4 separate regions of the Homo sapiens genome follow, and all the other regions are linked to region 4. The links are contacts of gene promoters, found by promoter capture Hi-C in blood cells and fetal thymus (Javierre and others, 2016). All regions are on one chromosome and are shown on one strand. The core of a region is centred on a gene start or on the middle of the fragment in contact, and the rest is flanking DNA. Distances in the headings are between cores, read along the strand shown. Region 1 overlaps IFT81 (intraflagellar transport 81). Region 2 has its middle 32 kb from the start of ATP2A2. Region 3 has its middle 57 kb from the start of ATP2A2. Region 4 holds the start of IFT81 (intraflagellar transport 81).

The links. Contacts are between HindIII fragments. The CHiCAGO score rates a contact against its expected background, and 5 or more counts as called.
Region 1: a contact is called between a fragment that was not itself captured here and the fragment with the promoter of IFT81 in region 4, in 1 of 17 cell types (M2 macrophages). The highest score is 5.7, in M2 macrophages.
Region 2: a contact is called between a fragment that was not itself captured here and the fragment with the promoter of IFT81 in region 4, in 3 of 17 cell types (endothelial precursors, M0 macrophages and megakaryocytes). The highest score is 9.4, in endothelial precursors.
Region 3: a contact is called between a fragment that was not itself captured here and the fragment with the promoter of IFT81 in region 4, in 2 of 17 cell types (M2 macrophages and endothelial precursors). The highest score is 6.7, in M2 macrophages.

What each region holds. Positions count from the first base shown.
Region 1 is chr12:110,206,850-110,209,597 of GRCh38, forward strand. IFT81 (intraflagellar transport 81) reads left to right here. Exons shown (of 19, transcript NM_014055.4): 18 at 2,322-2,367. Among named protein-coding and RNA genes, the nearest start is that of ATP2A2, 73 kb to the right of the region's middle. The HindIII fragment of the contact is 7,375 bases long and covers 1-2,748 here.
Region 2 is chr12:110,247,575-110,250,583 of GRCh38, forward strand. No RefSeq gene overlaps it. Among named protein-coding and RNA genes, the nearest start is that of ATP2A2, 32 kb to the right of the region's middle. The HindIII fragment of the contact is 2,690 bases long and covers 1-2,616 here.
Region 3 is chr12:110,223,061-110,225,980 of GRCh38, forward strand. No RefSeq gene overlaps it. Among named protein-coding and RNA genes, the nearest start is that of ATP2A2, 57 kb to the right of the region's middle. RefSeq lists an enhancer at 686-1,186. The HindIII fragment of the contact is 7,275 bases long and covers 1-2,920 here.
Region 4 is chr12:110,123,102-110,126,223 of GRCh38, forward strand. It overlaps IFT81 (intraflagellar transport 81), which reads left to right and starts at 1,256. Exons shown (of 19, transcript NM_014055.4): 1 at 1,256-1,760. RefSeq lists a silencer at 1,070-1,339. The HindIII fragment of the contact is 3,777 bases long and covers 969-3,122 here.

The DNA.
Region 1 (2,748 bases), core at 164-2,663, 84 kb after region 4:
TGTAAACTTTGTTCATATAAATCTATATGGCCAATGATAAGAAATGAGAAAAGTTAAATTTGTTCTTAAAAAATAAAAATTTTTATAAATTAAGTTCTATTTCTTCCAAAGTTATCGATATAAATAGCAAAGAAGGAAATAATTGCTCTTGAACTATTCATTTTCTGATCTGTCTTCTAGCCAGATTTTTTTTTTTTTGAGACGGAGTCTTGCTCTGTCACCCAGGCTGGAGTGCAGTGGCACGATCTCGGCTCACTGCAATCTCCGCCTCCCAGGTTCAAACATATTCTCCTGCCTCAGCCTCCCAAGTAGCTGGGATTACAGGCACACGCCACTGTGTTTGGCTAATTTTTGTTATTTGTATTTTTGTAGTTTATATTTTTGTATTTTTGTAGAAATGGGGTTTCACCATGTTAGCCAGGTTGGTCTCAAACTCCTGACCTCAAGTGAACCACCCTCCTCAGCCTCCCAGAGTGCTGGGATTACAGGCATGAGCCACCACGCCCTACTGAAAATGAGGATTCATCAAGACTAATTGCAAAATTTTCCTTTACTTAGACTGCTGTATTTTCTCTTTTTATGGCTTAGGATTTCTTGGAGTCCCAATTTTATATTGTTTAATTTTTTCTTAAATACTGCAGCGTAGCTTCACACACAAAAACAGTCTCTTCTTTGTTCTGTGTTCCTTTACCCCTCGTCCTTCAGTCTTTTTTTTTTTTTTTTTTTTTTTTGAGACGGAGTCTCACTCTGTTGCCCAGGCTGGAGTGCAGTGGCGTGATCTCAGCTCACTGCAACCTCCGCCTCCTGGGTTCACGCCATTCTCCTGCCTCAGCCTCCTGAGTAGCTGGGACTACAGGTGCCCGCCACCACGCCTGGCTAAATTTTTTGAATTTTTAGTAGAGACAGGGTTTCACCGTGTTAGCCAGGATGGTCTCGATCTCCTGACCTCGTGAGCCACCGCGCCCAGCCCCAGCCTTCAGTCTTTATCCTTAACATGTCACCTGCTTTAAATCTCACATTTTGTCTTAAATAGTATTGAAATATAATTTTGTTTACAAATAAAATACAATGTTATTATGTTTTTAATTTTTACATTAAAATTTTTTTTTTAGCTTACAAAAGAAATACTTGTAAAAACAACAGTAACCATTATGAAGTAGTGTGCACAGAAGTTGAATGCTGTCCATTATTGCCATGTCTCAGAAATGTCTACTGTTAATACTTTGGTGTACATTAAGCCATATTCTTTTCCCATGCGTTTGCTGATACATCTGTATATATGTGTGTTAGTTAATGCATGGGAAATGTTATATGTATGTGTGTATACACACACGTATACATACATATGTATATAAAAATAAGATTAAACTGCTCCTGGGTGTAGTGGCTCACACCTGTAATCCTAGCATTTGGGAAGCTGAGATGAGCCAATTGCTTGAGCCCCAGAGTTCAAGACCAGCCTGGGCAACATGGCAAAACCCTGTGTCTACCAAAAAAATACAAAAAAATTAGCCCAATATGGCGACACATGTCTGTAATCCCAGTATCTGGGAGGCTAAAGTGGGAGATTCACTTGGGCCAGGGAGGTGGAGGCTACAATGAGGTGTGATCATGCCACTGCACTCCAACCTGGGCAACAGAGTGAGACCTTGTCTCAAAGGAAAAAAAAAAGATTAAACTACATATGCTGTTTTTCTCTTGATCTAGAATATTTTCCACTTCAGTATTTATAGATTTACCTCATTCTTTTGTATAACTCCTTATTATTTGTTTCAATAGATATGCCATAATTTGCTTAAACATTTTCCCATCTATAGACATTTAGTTTGTTTGCATATTTTCACTATTATAAGCATTGATGAAATAAATAGTCTGCTTTTATGTTTATTTAAGTTATGGGATATTTTTGTAGGATGACTTCCTAGAAGTAGAATTGCAAGATTACATGCTACTTAATGTTTATTTAAAATGTATATCCTTTCTCCTTTCTACAAACCTCTTCAAAAACAATGTGTAATTTAAGCAGATGGGTTGCCATTGTTTTGAGGGTAGATTAACCAGAAATAGTATTTAACATTTTAATTATCTTAATTTCCTATTAAATGTTTTGCTTTCTTTTTTTTCCTTAAATTACTATTTACTTGAAGAACTAACTAAAGATGGGGAAAGACAAAGAATTTTATAATGGGTTTCATTCTGACTCCAGTACCCTAAACTATATTGCCTAGTGTATTTTAGATAGATATATTAATTTATAATTCACTTGTATGATCAAATCATTTGAAGTAAATTGAAAGTAAATCATTATGTTGACTCCCTAGGGAACAGTATACCAAAAATACTGCTGAACAAGAAAACCTTGGAAAGGTAAGAATTATTATTTATTTTTTTAAATGTGTCTAACTGATTCAGGCTTTCAGTACTGTACATGGTTTATGACTGTCATTGTTTTCAAAAGGTCATAGTACAGTTTTTGAGGGGAAATTGTTCATTCATTTTAAAGATGGAAGACTTCCTTAAGAATTTAGTTTTACAGAAATAAAGTCACGATGGATTTTTGAAAGAAAAAATTATCTATTTTTAAATCACAGAGAGTTCATGATAATGTTCTGCGTTACAGTTTTCAGATTATCCTCAGGCTGGGCGCGGTGGCTCACGCCTGTAATCCCAGCACTTTGGAAGGCCAAGGCCAGTGGATCAGTTGAGGTCAGGAACTCAAGACCAGCCTGGCCAAAATGGTGAAACCCC
Region 2 (3,009 bases), core at 22-2,521, 120 kb after region 4:
ACACCTGCTGTGTCATGTCAGAGGTGCCAGAGCACCCTTTGACTGCCTGAAGAGGTCTCGGCTTGCCACCCACCAGGGTCAGGTCGTCTCAGGTCCCCGGGGAGGTTTGACTAGCCAAGAGCCCCAGGCAGAGGCACCAGGAGAGGAGAGCAGCATTGGCAGGGCCTGCCCTCTCCCAGAGCAAACAGGGACAAAGGTTGGTGTACTCACGGCTGCCTCTCCCATCCTGCCTGTGCCTGCCCGCCACACCAGATACTCCAGGTTGTCCCAGCATTGCTACATTAGGCAGGAATCTGTCATCTCTGCCTGCTGGGTCACTCATTACCCCAGATCCAATTCCCAGGCAGGGAAGTTTGGGGCATCAGAGCAGCGGAGAAGGCTTTGGCATTCAGGAGCTTTAAAACAGAAAAGCTGTCGTGTCTGTACCTGTTCAGTAGGGAGCCAAACGTGTTTATTGCATGTGTTATGATGCTATCGTGAAAGTATGCATGAAAGGAAATAATTTGTAAGCTCGCTACCCTGCCTGTCTGGAAAAGTGGGGCCCTCTGTGTAAACCCCAGCTCTGCAGGCATTCTGAGAGCTTGAACATTCCTTGTGACTATTTCTTATACTACATTTCACTGCCACCCCAGTGTGTTTGAATTTGTCTCTGCGCCAGCAGGTCGGAGTACCCATTGGGATTCTCTGTGAGAATTCAAACAAGTTGGAGGCGCTGAGGTTGCCAAGTGCAACCAGGTCTGGCACAGACTTGGCGTGAGAGAGAGCAGGAGCAAGAAGGCTTGGACATCATGAATCACTGAAGCCCTGGCCCATATAGCCTTCTTGTTTGGGATTAGTATAGAAGTGTTGTTTTTCCTTCTTTATACCTGAGAATGGCCTTCAGCTGCTGAAATGATGATATTTATCAAGGTAGTACTATACTAAGAACTGAATGAATGATCTCATTTACCTCCCACCTCAAACCCATGAGATAGATACAGATGAGGACCCATGCTCAGAGAATTTGAGTAACATGCTTAAGGTGACCTCCTACTTCATCTGCAGTTATTTTGTTTGTTTGTTTGTTTATTCATTTGAGATGGAATCTCACTCTGTTGCCCAGGCTGGAGGGCAGTGGCACAATCTCAGCTCGCTACAAACTCCACCTCCCAGGTTCAAGCGATTCTCCTTGCTCAGCCTCCTGAGTAGCTGCGATTACAGGCGTGCACCACCATGCCTGGCTAATTTTTGTAGTTTTAGTGGAGACAGGGTTTCACCATGTTGACCAGGCTGGTCTCAAACTCCTGGCCTCAAGTGATCCACCCACCTCAGCCTCCCAAAGTGCTGGGACTACAAACATGAGCCACCTTGCCTGGCCTCATCTGCAGATAAGACTTGCTAGCACCCTATTCTGAAAGGAGAGGAAGAAAGAAGATGAGGATGAGTATTTCTGAGGGCTGTAGTTGTGTACTGGTTTCTTAGAAGCTAGGGCCCTCCTGATTTATATTCCATGGGGCTGTCTGAGGAAGTTGTTTAGCTTTTGAGGTGATAGATGAGGGCTGGGTCACTTCTGTTTGCAGAGTGTGGGCTGAAGGGTAAGTCAGGACATTTCTCCTCTGGTCCCCATCAGGGACTCACAGGCTGACTCCTGTGGCTGTGTTTATATCATCATTTTTAAGGCATCAGTACCAGCATGGCAGCTCTAAGCTCCCTCTTCCTTTTGCCGTCCTCCATGTGGAAAGAAGCCAAACGGGAGAACTTCCCCAACCATTTCCCCTCAGTGCAGCTGGTACCAGCTTGAAACCTAAGACACATAGCACTGCAGCCCGGCCAAAGCATGGCTAATCCGTGTTTCTTTAGACACAGCAGGAAGCTGCTCTGTGGCCTGGTGTCAGGAACCATCTCAGGGCCCATGGGTGTTCTGCTTCCTTGGTTTGACCCTGAGGGGTCAGCTGGCAGGTGAAGCCCATCAACACTGACTCTGTAGACGGGGACTATCATCAGCAGCTTATGGAAGAGAGGGAAGAGGATGTCTGGGATTTGAATCTTTTACTCAGGGCCTTTTCTGGAAAAGCAGTCTCTTTGGAAAAGGAGGATGATAGAGGAGTTTCCATAAGGTGGAAACGGCTCCCTCCATGTGTGACTGTGAGAAGGGAGTGTCGGTCCAGTGCCATGTCCCATTCCAACAGGTGGCCTCCAGTTGCCATCAGTGCCCTTCGCCATGCCTTCGTCCTGGGGGTGGCCTGCAGTGTTGGTAGGGGACCCTGCCTTTCCTGGCCATCCCCATAGGCCACAGGCCCCTCCAGTATGCTGCTCCTGCACGGTGCCCAGAGCCTGTTCCACCCCGCCAGGCACCTCTGTCCGTCACATCGGCTGCACACATCAGCTCTGCCCCACTCTGTGTTTCTGAATTACTCTCACTGGCAACCAGCACAAGCTCTGCCCTCCCAGTGTCCTGATATCCTCTGGTTAATAAGCAGCTCACATAAAGACACCAAGAGCTGTTGCAAGTGGTAGAGAAAAGCCACAGCTCTCTGAATACAGTCCAGGAAGCCCTGGACTTGGCCCAGGAACTTGGTGGCTGTTTCTGTTCTCTGCCCCTTGGTAGCCTTCCTCACCGGGTATAAAAGGGAGAGAAGCTTGAATCCTTACCCTGAGGCATAGGAGACTACAAGGCAGTGAGGGGCTTATTAGTCAATGAGAGACTTTTGCTGAAGCTGGACGACCCTTCCTGGAGGAGTCCTCTTTTCTAAAAGAAAACAAATTCCTGCCCTTTATTCTTTCAAATCTACTTCTAGAAAAGTCTTAGAGTTCCTGTTAATTCAAACACCAATCTCCCACCTTCCCTCTCTCCTGTCTCTATGAGCTGCCTGGGCGGCACACTTCCTACCCACCTGCTCACTCCCTCCATCTCCTATACTGTTTTATCCCCTGGAGTTTGGAGATGTCCCTGTGGAAGGGGACAGTGGGGAGTGTGTGCCAGATCCCCCCCGCCCATTGTCACCTTGGTCTGAATCCAACCCCACAAGG
Region 3 (2,920 bases), core at 126-2,625, 100 kb after region 4:
TCAAGCAATTCTCCTACCTCAGCCTCCCAAGTAGCTGGGATTACCGGCATGTGCTACCACGGCCAGCTAACTTTTTGTATTTTTAGTAGAGATGGGGTTTCACCATATTGGTCAGCTGGTCTTGAACTCCAGACCTCAGGTGATTCACCCGCCTCGGCCTCCCAAAGTGCTGAGATTACAGGCATAAGCCACCGCGCCCGGCCCCAAGTATGTTTCTTAACTTTTTAAGGTAACACAATACAGAGCACTTTTTATAATTTGAGTAAAATAAAAGACTAAATATATTGCTGAAACTAAAAATATACAAATTTGCAGAATTCTTCTGAGTTGAATATGAAAAATGGCAAACTGATAACTTGTCAAAGCTGTCTCTACAAAGGCAAAGTCAAAGTTTGCATTGAAAAATGACTTTGTAGCTGGGCACAGTGGCTCACGCTTGTAATCTCAGCACTTTGGGAGGCCAAGGCAGGCAGATCGCCTGAGGTCAAGAGTTCGTGACCAGCCTGACCAACAAGGAGAAATCCCATCTCTGCTAAAAATACAAAATTAGCCAGGCGTGGTGGTGTATGCCTGTAATCCCAGCTACTCGGGAGGCTGAGGCAGGAGAATCACTTGAACCTGGGAGGTGGAGGTTGCAGCGAGCCAGATTGCTCCATTGCACTCCAGCCTGGGCAACAAGAGCGAAACTCCATCTCAAAAAAAAAAAAGAAAAAAGAAAAAGAAAAATGACTTTGTATGCAGGTGTGTGTCTTATAGAAGCCTTGTCTTATGCAGGCATTCTACCCTATATTAGTGACTAATGAGTGTGAGTAAATGACTTGTTTCTACAAAGGATTCTAGGTGCTTACATCATTCATCTTGTCTGGCATGAAGGAGTCTTTAGCCCCAGGGAACGGGTAAGATAGCATCCTGATGATTAACTTTCTTTAAACTTGGTTTTATCAGTAACGTCATTGTTACTGATTGTTACTCACCTACAGGTGAGGAGTAGATTACATATGCAACAGATCTTTCTTTTTTAGACAATTCATGGCAGCCAGGAGAGAAATAAAGCTGTATCTTTATTAAATATGTAAATTATTCCTCCACTCATACTGGCTTAGCTCCTCTTCCTCTTCCTTTTAATGAGAGCAGTTTAAATTAGAGCTGCTTGGCGTATGGCAGCCAGGCCTGGGATGAGTGTTTTGTCTCGGGGGATGGAGAGGGATCATTAAAAGTTATCTATGTATTTTTTATCTTTGACCCTACTGTCTTAAGATAATCTTAAAAAGAGAAGTTGACTGTAAATATTGTTTAGCCCCACCCCATCCTTGCAAAAGAAATCAAAAAATAAAACACAGATCCCAAATAAGTATTTTTAAGAGACTTGGACAAACATATGCTTTCTGCTCCTATGCTCCCTCTTTTGGCAAACTGGAAGTACTTTCTTGGCAAACATCGATATTTTCACAATTTCCTTTCCAGAATTGCTGAGAGGCTTGAGTCACCAAACTTGGTTTACTGCTATGGAAATTCACTATTCCGAGCACAGGAAGAAATTAAAGATTTTTGTTTTTCGGTGAAAGTATGTGTTTACACCTCAGTTCAGAGTGTAACAGCAGGTTCCTGGCTTGGCTGCTTAATGCTGCATGCGATATCCTGGTAAACAGTCATAGAATTTTGGAGCTTGAAAGGAACCTCAGAATGATTCATATAATCATTTATTAGATCAGGAGCTTTGAGGGATCTCTTCCAACCTCTCTCCAGTGTGGAAATCAGTTCTGTAGCGCATGTAGCGAATCACTTTCCAGCCATAGTAGTGTACCCGCAATGCGGCTCACTCCTCATGAGGGAGCCTGTTTCATTGTTAGAGCACAACCTAATTAAGTTATTGGTTCTGAAACTGAAGCAGACTTACAAAGGACTTTTTATGAACTTCAGTTATGCAAAGCAAGATTTAACAAATTTTATTCCCTGAAGCTCTAATCACGACCATGATCATGAGTGATTCAAGCAAATAACCTGGTACTGAGCACTCCATTTGTACCAGGCACTGTCCTAAATGCTTTATATGTGTAGAACTAACATAACTCTCACAATAACCTTATGAGGCAGCTGCAATTATCCGCATTTTATAGATAAGGGAACTGAAGCACAGAGAGACTTTCACAATATTATACAACTAATGATTGTGGCAGAGCCAGGATCCAAAACCTGTGCTCTTAAGTACTTATATTGCAGTGTGACCCATGTATATACCTATTGTATATAAGCAAACAGATTGATGTCTGTTTATGAGTTATGGTATGAAATAATTTTTAGTGCTTATTATAAAATTATAGTACCTTTTTTTAAAAAATGTGTTTGCTTACTATACCTAAAGAATAAACTTTACTAAATGGTTAAAAGTAACCTCAACCAACCAGATGAGGGAATTATACTGAAAATAAATGTTCAGTAAATGAATGAAAGAAATGAGTAGTAGTTTTAAATACAGAGCAAACTGAAACTTTATAGGGTTATCATTTAAATCTATCTGTGTGTTAAAATCATGCATGTCTCCAATTGCTGGACATTTAGATCAACTCCAGTTTTTCACTTTATGAACAATGCTGGAATGAAACTTAAAGATTGAAATACAGCTGGGTGGCCAGGCACGGTGGCTCACGCTTGTAATCTCAGCACTTTGGGAGGCTGAGGTGGGCGGATCATGAGGTCAGAAGTTCCAGACCAGCCTGACCAACCCAGTGAAACCCCATCTCTACTAAAAACACAAAAATTAGCTGGGCGTGGTGGCAGGTGCCTATAATCCCAGCTACTTGGGAGGCTAAGGCAGGAGAATCTTGAACCCAGGAGGCCTCCGCCTGGGTTGCAGTGAGTCGAGGTCACACCACTGCACTCCAGCTTGGGCGACAGAGCTAGACTCCGTCTGGAGAAAAAA
Region 4 (3,122 bases), core at 6-2,505:
CAGCATTTATCTCAATTGTATTGGTGTTGCCCCTTTAATAATCTCTGCCGGCACTAGACTGTCAGCTCCATCAGGGCAGGGGCCAGGTAAGTCCTGCCCTTCTGCATTTCCAGCAGCCTGTACAGTACAGGGCATATAGGAAATGCCTAATACGTAATCTGTTATTTTTTGTTGTGGTAAGTCTGATGCTAAAGCTATAGTTGGTTTCTCCTATGCTGTTTGAGCAGGCAACTAAGTTTTCAAGGTATCAATAATTTGATTTTTTTTCCTTCTCTTTCTTTCATTGCCAGCTGATATCACTAAGTATCGTGGTCTCTAGTCTAATAGAGGTTGGTTCAAAATACCATTTGCCAACTAAGGTCTCCCACAAACCAGCTAGTGCAAATTCCAGTAGACTTTTAAACCTCATCAGTGACTGGGCACAAAGATCTCCCTGCGTCCTGCGTGGGATGTGAACTCCATGAAGACCACAAGGAGGATTTAATTTATTTCTGCAGTCACCTAAAGAGAGCCCACTCAGAAGCCAAAGGAACATTAGGACACTTAGTTCTCCCACACCCCCTTTCAGGCTCTCAGCATACTCAAAACGTATTGGGTTTAAAAAAATTTAATTCCCAGTACAGGCAATGTGGCCCAGTAATGTGACACAGAAGCTGAAATCTCTATGATGAATGTGTCTTCTTTTAATCCTGCCAGAGCCTCACTACAATTGTTCCTATGCATAACCTAATTTGGAGATACTTATGTCAAAAACCTAAATTTGAAGCACTGGCCAAATGCTTGCTCATCCCAACCCCCCTACCACCCAGCCCTGCCTCAAAAACAAACAAAAATCATCACCCACGTTTGGCGCATGAATGCATGCATGCATGCATGAATGAATGAATGAATGAAACATCACACGCATTTAACATAGGTTAATCATGCAGAGAGTATTTTGTAAACTGCGAAGTGCAGGACTTTCGGGAAGCTTATTGTAGCGCGTCTAGGTCGGAGTAACAGTCCCAAATGCCCTCGGCTGTCTGCAGTGGCTCAGCACGTGGGCCCGCTTTGCAAGTAAGCCCGGCTCCCGTCCGCCCCGTCCGCCCCGCCCCGTCCCGCCCCGTCCCGTCCGCTCCGCCCCGCCCCGCCCCGTCCGCTCCGCCCCGCGCCCGTCCTCCCCGCCCTGGCCCGGCCCCGCCCCCCAGCTCGTGCGCGCGCGCGCGGGAGAGCGGCCGCTCGCCCGGAAGTGACGTAACTCTACGGCCTAGCAACCGTTGCCAAGGAGCTCGACTCTGGGAGCGGTCTAGAGCCCGGGCGCCTCCTGGGGGGTGGGGAAACGGTTTCGTGAGGAGAATTTGAGGTAACCTCGCCAACTCGCGGTCGGAAGCTCCTCTGAACCCCGAAATAGGAGAGAGCTCCCGTCCTCTCTCGGTCCTGATGCAGCACCTCGCAAGTGGAAGGGGTCGTCGCGGTTAAGCCCCCGGATAGGGGAATCGGGCCCCTTCTGGGATTCGAGCGGATCCAGGCCGCTCCCTGGAGGGATGAACTGTCGAGGGGCCCAGGGCAGCCCCCGCTAGAGGCCCGGTCGGGTGTGGGGTCCCCTGTCCCCTGTCCCGAGCCCGGGGAGGGGGACACTATTTCTGGTACTCCCAGGAGGCTGCGGGTCGATGCTCGTGCCAGCCTGGGACCCAGGCAGCACGGTTTCTCTCCCAAATTGTGCCAGAGAACACGCACGTCCTGGTTTTCATTGTTCCCCGCCTCCTGCGACTCGTTTGTGGGTGAGTGCTTGGGAATTAGCGCGGCGACTTCGCGCTAGAAGAGGGACAGTAATTGCTTTTGCTAATTTTAGAGCGCAGAGCCCGCTGGGCACAGACAGCCTTCCTGTTCAGTACATCTTTGTCCTTATCGAGTGACCATTTTTGCAGGCTGGTGGGCGACTTGGGGGGAACCCAACTGGTTTATTTTGCCTTCCTGGAAACGTTGTACTAGTTTATCCAGATTTTTTTTTAAGGGAAAAAAGAGTAGACCTATAGATAATTTCTAAATCATTTAAAATGAAATACATATTTCTGCACGCAAAGGTTATGACGTGGACTTTTACTTAAAATACTTTAAACAATGGAAAACTTGCACTTCCAATATGGATTTTAAAAAAAAACTTACGTAAAGGTTTTCCTTTTATAGCTTAAAGGAAACCTCAGATTTATTATAAGCCATGGTGGTTATCCTTCCTATCCTCTTTTGACTTATTTCTTAGCAATAATAATTATTTGTGCGTAATTTTTCATCATTGTGGAGAAATTATCTTTTTTATTTTATTTTTTCTGTTGAGACGGAGTCTCTCTCTGTCCCCCAGGCTGGAGTGCAGTGGCGCGATCTCGGCTCACTGCAACCTCCGCCTCCCGGGTTCAAGCAATTCTCCTGCCTCAGCCTCCCAAGTAGCTGGGACTACCGGCGCCCGCCACCACACCTGGCTAATTTTTGTATTTTTAGTAGAGACCGGGTTTCACCATGTTGGCCAGGCTGGCCTCGAACTCCTGACCTCAAGTGATCTGCCTGCCTCGGCCTCCCAAAGTACTGGGATTACAGGAGAGAACGACAGCTCCCGGCAGCAACTCATTGCTTAATTCATTTTTAATCCTTAAAGCATTTACCTAGGTAAAGCTGTTTCAGCAGTTAATAAATCAGATATTCAGTTTTTTAAAAAGTTATGATCTTTCTCACTGCCAGCCTGATTTCCTTTAGATTTAGGCTTATGTTGTACTTGTGCCTGTGAACAAGTTCATTCAATCTAGTGGAAGGAATCACTGTTTTAGACACAATGGATGTTCAAAAATGGAATTGGACACAGATACGGAATTTACAGTTTAGCAGGGAAGAGAAGATGCGTACCTAAAGAACTAGCACAAGATCGGCCAGGCGCGGTGGCTCACGCCTGTAATTCCAGCACTTTGGGAGGCCAAGGTGGGCGGATCACGAGGTCAGGAGATCCAGACCATCCTGGCTAACACGGTGAAACCCCGTCTCTACTAAAAATACAAAAAATTAGCCAGGCGTGCTGGCAGGCGCCTGTAGTCCCAGCTACTTGGGAGGCTGAGGGAGGAGAATGGCTTGAACCTGGGAGGCGGAGCTTGCAGTGA